2 separate regions of the Homo sapiens genome follow, and region 2 is linked to region 1. Evidence: promoter capture Hi-C in human tissues and cell types (Jung and others, 2019). All regions are on one chromosome and are shown on one strand. The core of a region is centred on a gene start or on the middle of the fragment in contact, and the rest is flanking DNA. Distances in the headings are between cores, read along the strand shown.

Evidence for each region. Contacts are between HindIII fragments. The study calls those that stand out against the background at their distance.
Region 2: a contact is called between a fragment that was not itself captured here and the fragment with the promoter of FOXB2 in region 1, in 1 of the 25 tissues and cell types used here (lymphoblastoid cells).

What each region holds. Positions count from the first base shown.
Region 1 is chr9:77,015,906-77,021,841 of GRCh38, forward strand. FOXB2 (forkhead box B2) reads left to right here and starts at 3,750. Exons shown (of 1, transcript NM_001013735.1): 1 at 3,750-5,048. The coding sequence starts at 3,750. The coding sequence ends at 5,048. The HindIII fragment of the contact is 6,747 bases long and covers 516-5,936 here.
Region 2 is chr9:76,221,516-76,227,468 of GRCh38, forward strand. The region is part of intron 20 of PCSK5 (proprotein convertase subtilisin/kexin type 5); the gene reads left to right. Among named protein-coding and RNA genes, the nearest start is that of RFK, 170 kb to the right of the region's middle. The HindIII fragment of the contact is 4,753 bases long and covers 1-4,727 here.

The sequences.
Region 1 (5,936 bases), core at 2,500-4,999:
CTGAGCGCCAGCCAATATTTGGATAGTGCAGTAGTTGTTTAAAAACAACAAAAAAAAATTACTCGCGGAAACTTGAAACCGACTGGTTGGTGCCAGGGTGGTTACACGATCTGTTTTTCTTGAGAGGGGGTCTGCAGGCAGCTGGAGCGCGCGCGTTCCGGCCCCCGCCGGTGCCACTGAGCGCCTGCAAAACTTGTCGGAATTAACCTCCGGGGAAGTAGGGGAAGAGGAGAGCGCGCCCCCCTCCCCACCGCGGCCCCAGCTCTGCACCCCGGCCCAGTGCCGCGCTTGGAATCCCCCAGGATCCTCCGCGGCGGCCGCAGCCCGCCACTCTCCAAAACAGACACGCGACCCGAGCTCCCTGTCTGCGCTCTAGGCAGCAATTGCGGCCTGGGCCGCCGCGTCCGGCTGTGGCCTAGGTGGTGGGAAGTACTTTCTACCCTCGCCAAGCACAACCTGAATGCGGAAGCGTGAGGCTCGGGGCGCTTCGCTCAGCCTCCGAGACTGTTTTGTCCCAGGTTGCGTGGAACCTGGCTCGCCGAGGCCGAAGACACTGGCCAAGCCCCTGGCGTCCCCTGGCGCTGAACCTGAGGTTGTGGCGGCGGGTCTGCGGGCTGTAGCGAGCTCACCCAGTGAGGGCCTGGCTCATTTTTTGTGCTCAGGGTTCGCGTTATGCGCCCAAGATTTGTCCCGGGAGTCCCTGAAGGGCCCCTCCCCTCGATCGGTTCCCAGGAGCCGCAAGTGCCCAACGGGCACGGTCCCAGAGCTGCTCCCCAAAAGGAGACTCTGCTGTTCCAGCAACCCGCGGAAGGGATGCTATCCGAGGTATCAACAAAAGATCCCTTTGCTCGAGCTGCGTGTGGGGTCGAAGTCCGGAGAGCCCTTAAGTGTGCGGCACGCAGAGCTCCTCAGCAGCGGCCTGACAGCGGTGCAGGAGACCCCAGCTTCCTGGGCTGGGACAGGGCTGTTGTCTCACGGTCTTGTTCCAAGGAAAAGGAGCCACCTGGCTCCAGCAGGCTCTTGTCAAACTGTGAGCGTCCTTGGAATTCTGTGGCTTCCCGAGGCCAAGAGGCTGTCCGCTGCTCGGCTCTCTCAAGTGTCTCAGCGGACAAAAATCGCGCAGAAACTCCTATGGCAGGAGGAAAGCTTCCGACATACAGTGAAAGAGAAAACATCTTACTTTGAAAAGGGCTTAGGACCAAGAAGCTGCTCTTTTCCCCGGGCCTTCTTGCAAGCTTCAGTCGTAACATCTATTCTCAGACGTCTTCTGGCCTAGGACAAACTGGCCACATAGAGCTAGCCAGAAATCTAGCTCCTGACTAAAGATGGAAATTACGGGCCTGACCCGCTCACGGCACTCCTGCGACCTGGCTAAGCCACCCCACGGACAGACGTGCTCCCACCGTCCAGCTCACCAAAAGCCAGAAGCTGAAAACACCCGATCTGGTGTCACCAAGGTTGCTAGTTAGGGGGCAGCCCCCCAAGCAGCTGGGCCGATGGCTTTCTTCCAGGTTAGGCGTGGGAAAACCGAGGGAGCCATAGTGTCCAAATGCTCCTTTCTCCTCAAATCGCCTAACGGGAAAGGACCCGTGAATTTCCAACTTCAGCCACCCTATTTTACAAATAATGAAACAGTCCCAGAGACGGAGAGTATACTTGTTTCTAAACTCTGCTTTTCCTCCCAGCTGAAGGGCAAAGGTAGCCAAAACGAGTATACAACTTCAGGTTCTCCCTGCAGTAAACTGGGGTTTCCTGCTGGGTGTTTGGATGAGTGCAGAGCAGGAACCTCCAAGCAGAAGGACCTCACTCCTGGGTTCATCCACCTCTCCCTCGCAGATCACACCAGGATCCTGTGGACTGATAATTTTTGCTTCCTATTTAATTATTTCCATTCCACCTCCTGCCTCGCCCTGGCCCCACACCACCGTGCTAAGAATAGCAAAGATTTCCTTCCAGCACACACAGGTGATGGGACCCCTGAATCCCCAACTCTTACTTCTGGCCCCAGCTCAGACATCGCCATCCCAGAGAAACCTCATCTTGTCCAACTCACTCGCTCCAGGAAAGTGTGGTGGAGCCTCCATTCGCCAAGCCCTTTAGTGCCTATTCTATTAATTTCTTGGTTACTGTTCGTCTCACCCTCTATACCGCGATGGTGGAGCTCGGATACTGTCTCCTGTCTCCCTGCACCTGGTGCCTCACATGCAGTTGGCGCGCAATAAAACTGAGATGAATTTGGCATTTGGTGAAAACACCCCATGCTTTCTTCCCCATGAGTTTTTCCCTCCAGCCCTCTAATCATCGGGGTTTCTTGCAGAGAAGAGGCCTTGAGGACACGATACTCTGAACTTGACCCAGAGTGTCTAGCCCAGGAAAAAGGGTTTGTAAGGAGAGAGAAGCTCACAGCGAGTAGATGAAAACAGGGAAGGGTAAAAGGAAGGGGGCGGAAGAGGGAGATGCCAGAGAGAAGAGAAGCAAGAAGGCAGTGTCCTGTTCCCCCTCCACCGTGCTTGGTGGCCCGGGTGGGGCGCAGCTGCGGGAAATGCACCCGGAGCTGTGCCCCCTCCCGGCGAACAGCCTGCGCCACCCGCCGCACCGGGAGGTGGCTGGGGGCTGCCGAGCGAGTGGTGAACGCGATGGGTGGAGAGCGCCCGAAACGAGGTGGAAAAGGGGGCGGGGGCGAGGCACGGCGCCTTCTTGCCCCTTCTTCAGCTACAGACGCGGCGGCGGCGGCTGAGTCCCTCAGCCTCGGTCATGTGATAGTCTCGAAGCGCTAGCTGCGGGGGTCTCGGCGTCTCGGGGACCATTACAAAACGCAGCCAGGAGAGCGCGTCGCTGCCACTGCCGTCGCCTCTCCTCCTCAAGACAAGCCCGGGAGAAAGGCGGCAGCTGCGGCGCGGACGGCTGAGCCTCCCCGGCCAGCACTCACCCAGCATTCGCAGACGCCCTCTCCAGCCCGCCGCTCGCTCCCAGAGTCCTGCGCCCCACACTCCTCAGCAGAACCTGCGGGCGCTGCCGCTTCAGAAACCACCAAAGTTTTTTCTCCTCAGCGACAGCCTAGGGCTGCGCGTCTCTTCTAACCCCGGCGACGCTGCGAGCCTCGGAGAAAAGAGAGGCGCCCTAGAAGCCAATCTTCTCTCTCCTTACCCTGATTTTTCACTCCAGGAAAAGGAGAACTCCAGCGCGGTCTGGCTAAGTGCCTGGCCAGGGGCCTGCGTCCAGGGCACTGGAAGTCCTGCTGTCACTGGCCTCCAGGACAGCAGGCGCAAACTCAGATTTAAAGGGCCAGAGTCTCTACTGCCCAGACCTTCCTCCCAGCCATCTTGGTCTGGGTTTCCCTCGGACCTAGAAAAAGCAAAGAGGCCGGGAGGAAACACGGCCCCTTGCCACTCTCCTCTGCAGCCAGCTCCAGCACTCAGTCTTTGGCCACCCGGGGGAAGACGCAGAGAAGGCGGCGGTAAACCTGGTGCACTCCGCCCGCGACTGTGCGCGCCAGTCGGCAACCGTCGGGGCCAGAAGTTGCCAGCTTCCGAGAGCTGAGTAGGCCCGAAAGGCCAAGGTCGGAGACACCAGGCAATTCGGAGAAGGCAGGAGAGAGAAGCAGAGAGGGCCTGGAGGGCGAGAGGGCAAAGTGGCGGGACTGGAGGGGCCGAGTGGGAATTAGTGGGGGCAGCCAGGCCCCAGGAACGGAGTGCGGAGAGATTCTGTGGTCCAGTGCGGGCCGGAGGGCGGTGGAGGAGCCGGGGGCGATGCCGCGGCCGGGGAAGAGCTCGTACAGCGACCAAAAACCGCCCTACTCTTACATCTCGCTGACCGCCATGGCAATCCAGCACTCGGCCGAGAAGATGCTGCCGCTGAGCGACATCTACAAGTTCATCATGGAGCGCTTCCCCTACTACCGCGAGCACACACAGCGCTGGCAGAACAGCCTGCGCCACAACCTCTCCTTCAACGACTGCTTCATCAAGATTCCGCGGAGGCCCGACCAGCCTGGCAAGGGTAGCTTCTGGGCGCTGCACCCCGACTGCGGGGACATGTTCGAGAACGGCAGCTTCCTGCGGCGTCGCAAGCGCTTCAAGGTGCTGCGCGCCGACCATACTCACTTGCACGCGGGAAGCACCAAGAGCGCGCCGGGCGCCGGTCCGGGAGGGCACCTTCACCCCCATCACCACCACCACCCCCACCACCACCATCATCACCACGCTGCCGCACACCACCACCATCACCACCACCCACCCCAGCCGCCGCCGCCGCCGCCCCCGCCGCCGCCGCACATGGTACACTATTTCCATCAGCAACCGCCTACTGCTCCGCAGCCGCCTCCGCACCTCCCGTCACAGCCCCCGCAGCAACCGCCCCAGCAGTCGCAGCCTCAGCAGCCGTCTCACCCCGGCAAGATGCAGGAGGCGGCGGCCGTGGCGGCGGCGGCGGCGGCGGCCGCGGCAGCCGCGGTGGGCAGCGTGGGACGCCTGTCTCAGTTCCCACCCTACGGGCTGGGCTCGGCCGCCGCCGCTGCCGCCGCGGCCGCGGCGTCCACGTCAGGCTTCAAGCACCCCTTTGCCATTGAGAACATTATTGGCCGGGACTACAAGGGCGTGCTGCAGGCTGGAGGGCTGCCCTTGGCGTCCGTCATGCACCACCTGGGCTACCCCGTGCCCGGCCAGCTTGGCAACGTCGTCAGCTCCGTGTGGCCGCACGTTGGCGTCATGGATTCGGTGGCCGCCGCCGCGGCCGCCGCAGCCGCAGCCGGAGTCCCTGTAGGCCCGGAGTATGGGGCCTTCGGGGTCCCGGTCAAGTCCCTGTGCCACTCGGCAAGCCAGAGCCTGCCTGCCATGCCGGTGCCCATCAAGCCCACGCCTGCGCTGCCGCCCGTGTCCGCGCTGCAGCCGGGGCTCACTGTCCCCGCGGCTTCGCAGCAGCCTCCGGCGCCATCCACCGTGTGCTCCGCGGCCGCGGCCTCGCCCGTTGCCTCTCTGCTGGAGCCCACAGCCCCTACCTCGGCCGAAAGCAAGGGCGGCTCCTTGCACTCGGTGCTAGTGCACTCCTAGGGGACCCGGCGGGCGTGGGGAGACCAGCGGGGTGAGAGACGCCGGGCCCGGAACCGCCCAAACCACCCGACGGGGAGAGGGCGCCCTGGTCAGGCCGGGCAGAGCTGGCGAGTCTCAGCCTTTGCTGGAACGGAAGGTATTTAAATAGACGAACAACCCCGAAAAGTGGATTCTCCAGTGGTCTGAATAAATATAACCTTCCTGGTGTCTGTGTTTATACTATGTTGTACAATCAGATTAATGAAAGCCAATTTTCAGGTAAGAGTTTCTATTGTAATTAATATAAATCCATAAGTTATGGGGGGAGGGAACGAAGGAGGTTAGGAAAGCCTCATTCGCTGGTAAATTGGAAGTCGATTCTGACCCTTATTCCTGGGAGCAGAAGCTGGCAGAGCTAAACCTCCCGCGAAGAATCCAACAGAGAGTGACGCTGAAACGGATCTCAGCCACCACGTTTCTCTCTGCTGGTCGCATCCTCGGCGGTCGCCTCTCGTGAACATTCAAGACAAAACTGCCGTCCACTAAGGAAATTTCGTTTTATTTAAGAAGGAAAAGAGGAAGCGTTTGATACCGTTATTTTCCTAGTCAGCTAAATGGGCAAGGAAACGGTGTCATGAATAAAGTCGCTTTGGAGGGGGAAGGGGAGGAGAGGAGGCAGCGGGAACCCCACGAAATATCTTTGGGAAACAGCTAAGGTTCTTGGCTCTGACCTGGGGGTCAAGAAGGATAGGAGGAACCTCTAGAGCAATTAGTTTGTACAAAAGAGAATGGCAGCAGCTTAAAGGGTAAAGCCCCAAATTCCAAAAGTTGGGAAACACAACCAAAGGGAGACAATACAGGCGACTTTCCACCTGCAACTTGTTTGGGTATCAGTCGGATGAGAGCCCA
Region 2 (5,953 bases), core at 1,101-3,600, 800 kb before region 1:
GGTTTTTGTCTGGATTAAATATTACATAGAACAGCACTTGTAATACAGTAGGCATCCATGAATAGGAGCTTGTATGATTGCTACATCACTACTACATTCAGGTGCGTCAGCCAAGACTTCACTTTGGATGTACTTTTTTAACTGCCTGACTGTGGTCAAGGGCCAAACGACGGTGGAAACTAGAAAGATCAACTCTTAATTCTGCCCTTTGAACAACGTGTAGGCTGAAGGAAACTAAATATTTGTGTGTGTGTGTTGGATCCACAATTTACGATCCATCCTTTTTGCAGGAGTGCCAACCCATGAGGTTGCCAGAGTAGCATTTCAGAGCATCTGCACAAACCCCACAGATCAATGTCAGTGCCTGCCTGAGAATGAAAAAGCAATGGGACCAGGAAGGATAAGTCTTGTCAATCAAAAACAGAATATGCAGGAAGGACAAGGGCAAGTTGTCCTTGAGAGAATGGGATAGAGAAGAGATTTCCTCCAGACACCTCCAGGGTAGGGATGTAGAACCCTCTTTCTAGCTGCCTAATGTTCATTCTGTCTTTAGTGCATCCTTGAGGAAAGGAAGAAGACAGAGTTTTCCATCTGCCAGATGTCTCCCTTATCCCAAGTTTTATTCATATATCAATTTATTTCCATTATCACAGGAGGTCTCCCAAGCCTCACTTCAACAGACTGGCTTCCCAAGATGGTGGATTGGTTGATACCCTTTGGACCCATCCCCAAAGACAGGCAATACTGATTTTGTTTTTTGGCTAAAATGAAGTATTGGCCTGCTAAGACACAAACTCTTTGTGTAGATATTTTTTTAAAAAAATATTGTAAAATATTCATAATATATATTTACCATTTTAACTATTTTTAGTGTGTAGTTCTGTGGCATTAAATACATTCACACTGCTCTGCAACCATTACCACCATCCATCTCCAGACCTTCATCATCTTCTTCCACTGAAACTCTGTACCCATTAAATAACCCTTTCCCCCTACCCTTAGGCCCTGGAAACTACAATTCTACTTTGTCTCTATCACTTTTACTACTCCAGTTACCTCATATAAGTAAAATAATACAATATTCGTGCTTTTGTGACTGGCTTATTTCATTTAGCATAGTGTCTTCAAGGTTCATCCATGTTGTAGAGTTTGTCGGAATTTCCTTTCTTTTTAAGGCTGAATGATTGTGTTGACTTAAAGATGTTGCAGTCTCAGTTGATGGCCTCATAGTTTGAGCCTTGCTATAAAACTTTATGCTTAACAAAGCTTTGAAAAACAACTGATTTCATTAGTACATAAGTAGCTGAAAGTGTTGCTGAGTATTTATTATAGCTGGCGAAAAAAACATATAGATGTTTTTAATAAAAATTATCTTCACAGAATGGTATCTTAAGTTGGAAACTACATGTTGGCATCCTTGCAAAGAGATAATATTATTTGATTAACACTTGTGATAGTAGAATCACTCATACTCTATGATTTCTGGCATCTGAGTGACGAGGCACATAAATAGGCCTCACAGGGAAGTCTACAGATAATTTCATACCCCAAGGTTACTCACTGAAATAACTAGATCAAAAACCAAGCAACTGAATTCTCATCAAATTCCTCCCATCCTCTCTTACCAATCATCTTGCTAAAAAGTTTTTAAACTCACATCATAAAATATCATATTTATGTATCGATTAATTTATTCAGTGTACATATTTATTTGCTAGAATTCTACAATAAATTTAGCTGTAACCAATAAGGAAATATGAGGTATAAAAGAAAGCGTAGCATTTGTTCAGGAGAAATGAGGCTCTTCTGGCCATGTAAACCTAAAAAAGGATTATACTTCAATCTTATGTTGTAACTTTGGATGCTATGATACATGTTCAGTTATTCTGGAAGACTTTATAATGTTTGCTTAGAATCTGGACTTGTTGATAGTATTCTACAGTGTTATCAAGAGATGGAATAAGCACAGTAAGCCACTTGTAACTTTTTAAAATTTATAAGTATTAATTTTTAAGCTGTGTCTTCAACTTTTGAGGTAGCATTCCTCTCCAAGTGACTACACTTCCTCAGTGTCTTTGAACCATTATAGCATAGGATGAGAAAGAAACTAAAGGGGGAATGGAACATTTTTTGATCACAGGAGAAAGATGATCTGGAAATCATAACAATGGATGAAGATGCCAGAAAGAAGAGCTTGTAGGATGAGGTGGAAAACAAAATACTGGCTCCTGAAGGCTCTGTTAAAAGTTGACTTTTTGTAAGAATTTTGTATATCATGCCTGTCATAAACATTCAGCTTCATTGTGCAATGAAGACAGATGACAAGAATTTGCTGCTCCAAAAACAACAAAAAAGAGCAACTTCTCTGTGTCCTTGGAATCTGGTTTCTTCAGTTCCAAACATGCAGTGAAAACTTGTGCCTGTAAGAGCTGGGGGCAGTTGCTTATGTAACTAATTAAACATCTACGTAAATATGAGAATGGGAGAAGCCTTCTCTATTCTCATCAGCTGTTCTAACGTGAAGAGGCATGCAGACTTGAGAGACAGGCACAGTTTAGTTGTCTTACACTGACGCTCTTACATAAGCTTCAAGGTCATGAAGTTTTCACCATTTTGTTTCCAAATAGTAGGAGGAAAAAACAAGTTTTACAAGTCCCTTATCAGGGAGGGAAAGGGCTTGGGAAGGTTTAAGTTAGCAGAAAACTTTTGTAGATCAGACAAGGATTGGAGATGTGAGGAAGAGATTAAACACAGAGGAACTGGTGGAGAAATATTCTGAGGAAAGAAGATTATAACAGTAGATGGGGAATTGACAATAGCCAGGAAGAGTGGCAGACCTTTCTTTTGGAGACAGAAGATAAGTAAAAAGCCAAAGAGAAGACAGAGATGACTTTTGACATTGAGAAAAAAAAAAGCCAAGGGAACTCAGACATCTTATTGCAAATGAGGAGGTGATGTCTCCTTTTGCAGAAGAATGGGTGGAACTTGGGCTTTGGGATGGCTTGGCCTACCCCAGGTGGGGGATGCAAGCTAGAGATTGGAAGAGATGAATGAAGGGATAATCGCACAGTGACAGGGAGTCACCTAGGATGATGTAGACTTATAGTATGGCATAAGAAGCTGTGTCTGGAGGATGTATTTAAAATCTTGGAGATGGGGTAATCTTTTGGGGTCATTATATCTAAGGCAGCACATTGTGAGTGCCAACAGAGGCCATTATAGTTGAGTAGATTGAAGACATGCAAAGCCAGAGTATTAAAGCCACCTACTGGTTTATGAAAGCCAATGAGAAGGCAAACAAGAGATACAGAAGAAAATTTAAAATTTTCACAGTTATATCTTAATAACCCTCGACTAACCTAACGATGCCTCATCTGTATGATAAAGACTTTGAGCGCAGACATGATATAACTCTCAGAACCTTCTAAGTAGCATTTGATTTAGCAGAGCAAGGTGTTTTAGTTTAAAATCCTATCCTAGCATTGGATCTGACACATCATGGAAATGAGGATAGATGAATATGAGGAGTTCTGCCCATTCCTACAGGCACTGATGTCAAGGCAAAGTAATTGTCTTTGCCTCTGGGTCTAGCAGAGTCCTGTGTACACCCTTGCTCTTCTGTTCTGGTTTTTAATCTGGCCTGTCTGAGGAAGTAGAAGTCCCTTGGCTAGCAATTGTGTTATAACTATCTATAAATCACTCGCATAAAATCTTTGAGAACCCACGAGTAGGGTCTTTTTAATTTGTATGTCTCTACATCTCCCTTAGTAGCTGGCATGTATGTAGTGTTAAAAAATATATCCATAAAATGAATGAATGGATAAGCTGTGCTCTCTGAGTCCACATTTCTCTAGAATACGATTTTTGTGAGGTTTTCAGCTTCTATGAACCTCTCCATTCTTGTTCCACTCAGCATATTTTTTTGAAAGATACATAGATATCATCTAACTGTAAAAACAAATCGTTTGCACTGGCCCCTGTAGGCAAGGTCTGCTTCTTCCCACTGAGTCTGCCTTGGGTCCTCTGCTCTTAATTTTGCTGGTACCTGGACTGATAATCACCCTGCTCAATTGATTGTGCCTCCTACAACAATAGTGGAAGCCATAAATAAGAGGTGAAGTGAAGGAGCCTGAATAAATATAAAGAAGGCTGCATAACTATGATGATGCCTGTAGTCAGTGACACAGTCTCAGCTTGAAATCACCACTCCTGCTAGATGGAGGTCACAGCTTTTTTCTGTCTCAGGGCTACTGGTTACCAAGAATGTAACCAGTCCAGTCAACACCTTTGTATGAGTTAATAAAAGGTGTCCCTCTACAGAGGCAGGCGCAGCCTACACCAGAGTGCCTGGCATGGTGAAGCAAATGGGCTGGATGTCAGCCTCCACTGGACCATTCGGGTGGGTAGGCACCTTGTGCAGTGAACAACCTGCATACCTGTTGGTATGCCTTTGCCCCTGCTGGTTATGCACTCTTTTGGGCCTAGGTCTCCTGGGAAGTTTCCTAGTCAGTCCTGAAGTAAGAATCACAGTCCCATTCCCATTCTAAAAATTGTATATAAGTTTCCCAGTCCAAACTGTACCTTGGTAACAATGAGGAGACATAGAGGAACAGAGCCCGGGGTGTGCAGGGTGTGCTGTGATTAGATGTTTGCATCACTCTGAACATGCACTTTTCCCTTCTGTTAACAAAATGAATAGAATAACCCTACATGAAAGGCTTTTTCTGCTACATAAAGGCAAACTCTAGTTGTCTCTTCACAGTCATCTTTGGGGTTTAGTGCTAGCAAGTGTAAAATTTACATATATAAGATTTACTTACATGCTAGCTGTACCAGTCCAGTAAAGCGATGGGGGAAAGAGGGATGAATTTCCCTCATTTCCTCACCAGTCAAGTCTAGGTTTCCAGGGTTCTTTTCAATGCAACTATGCTAAATCAGGCAGTGAATCTTGGAGTTGCAGTAAGACAACGTGATTAAACCCTGGGCGGGTCCTGCTATCTCACCCCACCAGCTGGATCTCAGATTGACAGTGTTCAGACATGGCTTATGGGGGCTGTCAGAGTTGGAGGGGGTTGAGGTCCAGTGGAGGTTGTGTCTCTGCCAAAATCTGAAACCATATTTTCTGGGCATGACCAGTCTCTAAACCAGAAAAAGTGGCTCTGTGGATCTGACCAAAGAAGCCTGTCAATTTTTTTTAAGACAATAGCAGGTTAGGATGAGTGCAATGAGGGTTGGATTCAGTGAGTAGAGGCCCATCTTTGAGTCTATGAGATTTACTTTCCATGAGATTGGCCTCCCTCTGCCACCTTTGCTGTGGGAGTAATTTCTTAAAATGTTTCCAAGAAACTTGTGAGGCTGGATTTGCTTCTGTTGCAGGGCCCCATATGTGTTTTTCCTTGGGAAAGATAAAATTTCCAATTAAAGGAAGAATTCCCTGGCTATTTCTTCACTATTACTCTTTCAGAGTGAGATGTAGCTTACAATCACCCAATGTCAGCCAAGACTCAGCACCCATTCTTGACCAGTAACCATGATTACCACACCTCTACCCCATGGGGTGGTAAGAAAAGATCTAGGTGGTTCCTGCTCATTGCTTGACTTGAACCAAGACTATACGGCCCTCTGTGGACCAGGAGACCTCAGCTTTTAATGGAAAAGTCAGCAGGAGTTCAGTAAAGGGGTCTGGTGGGAAGCCCCGCTTGGCCTTCCCTACTTATAAAATCTGTAACACATGTTGACTAGATTCAGAAATATGTCATTGCCTCATAACTTTTTGAGGTTCCAACTTCTGGAGCCCCCGGGAGAGGAGCAGTTGTTATGATAAGGTCAGGATTTGGGACTAGCAGCTGAAGCCATTCAGGGCCTCTCCTCTCTGTGTTGTCTGCATTGCTTTCAGGCAGCCACAGAGATCTGGCTGCTCTCAGACTGACAGCCCAGGCAGGCTTGCCATGTA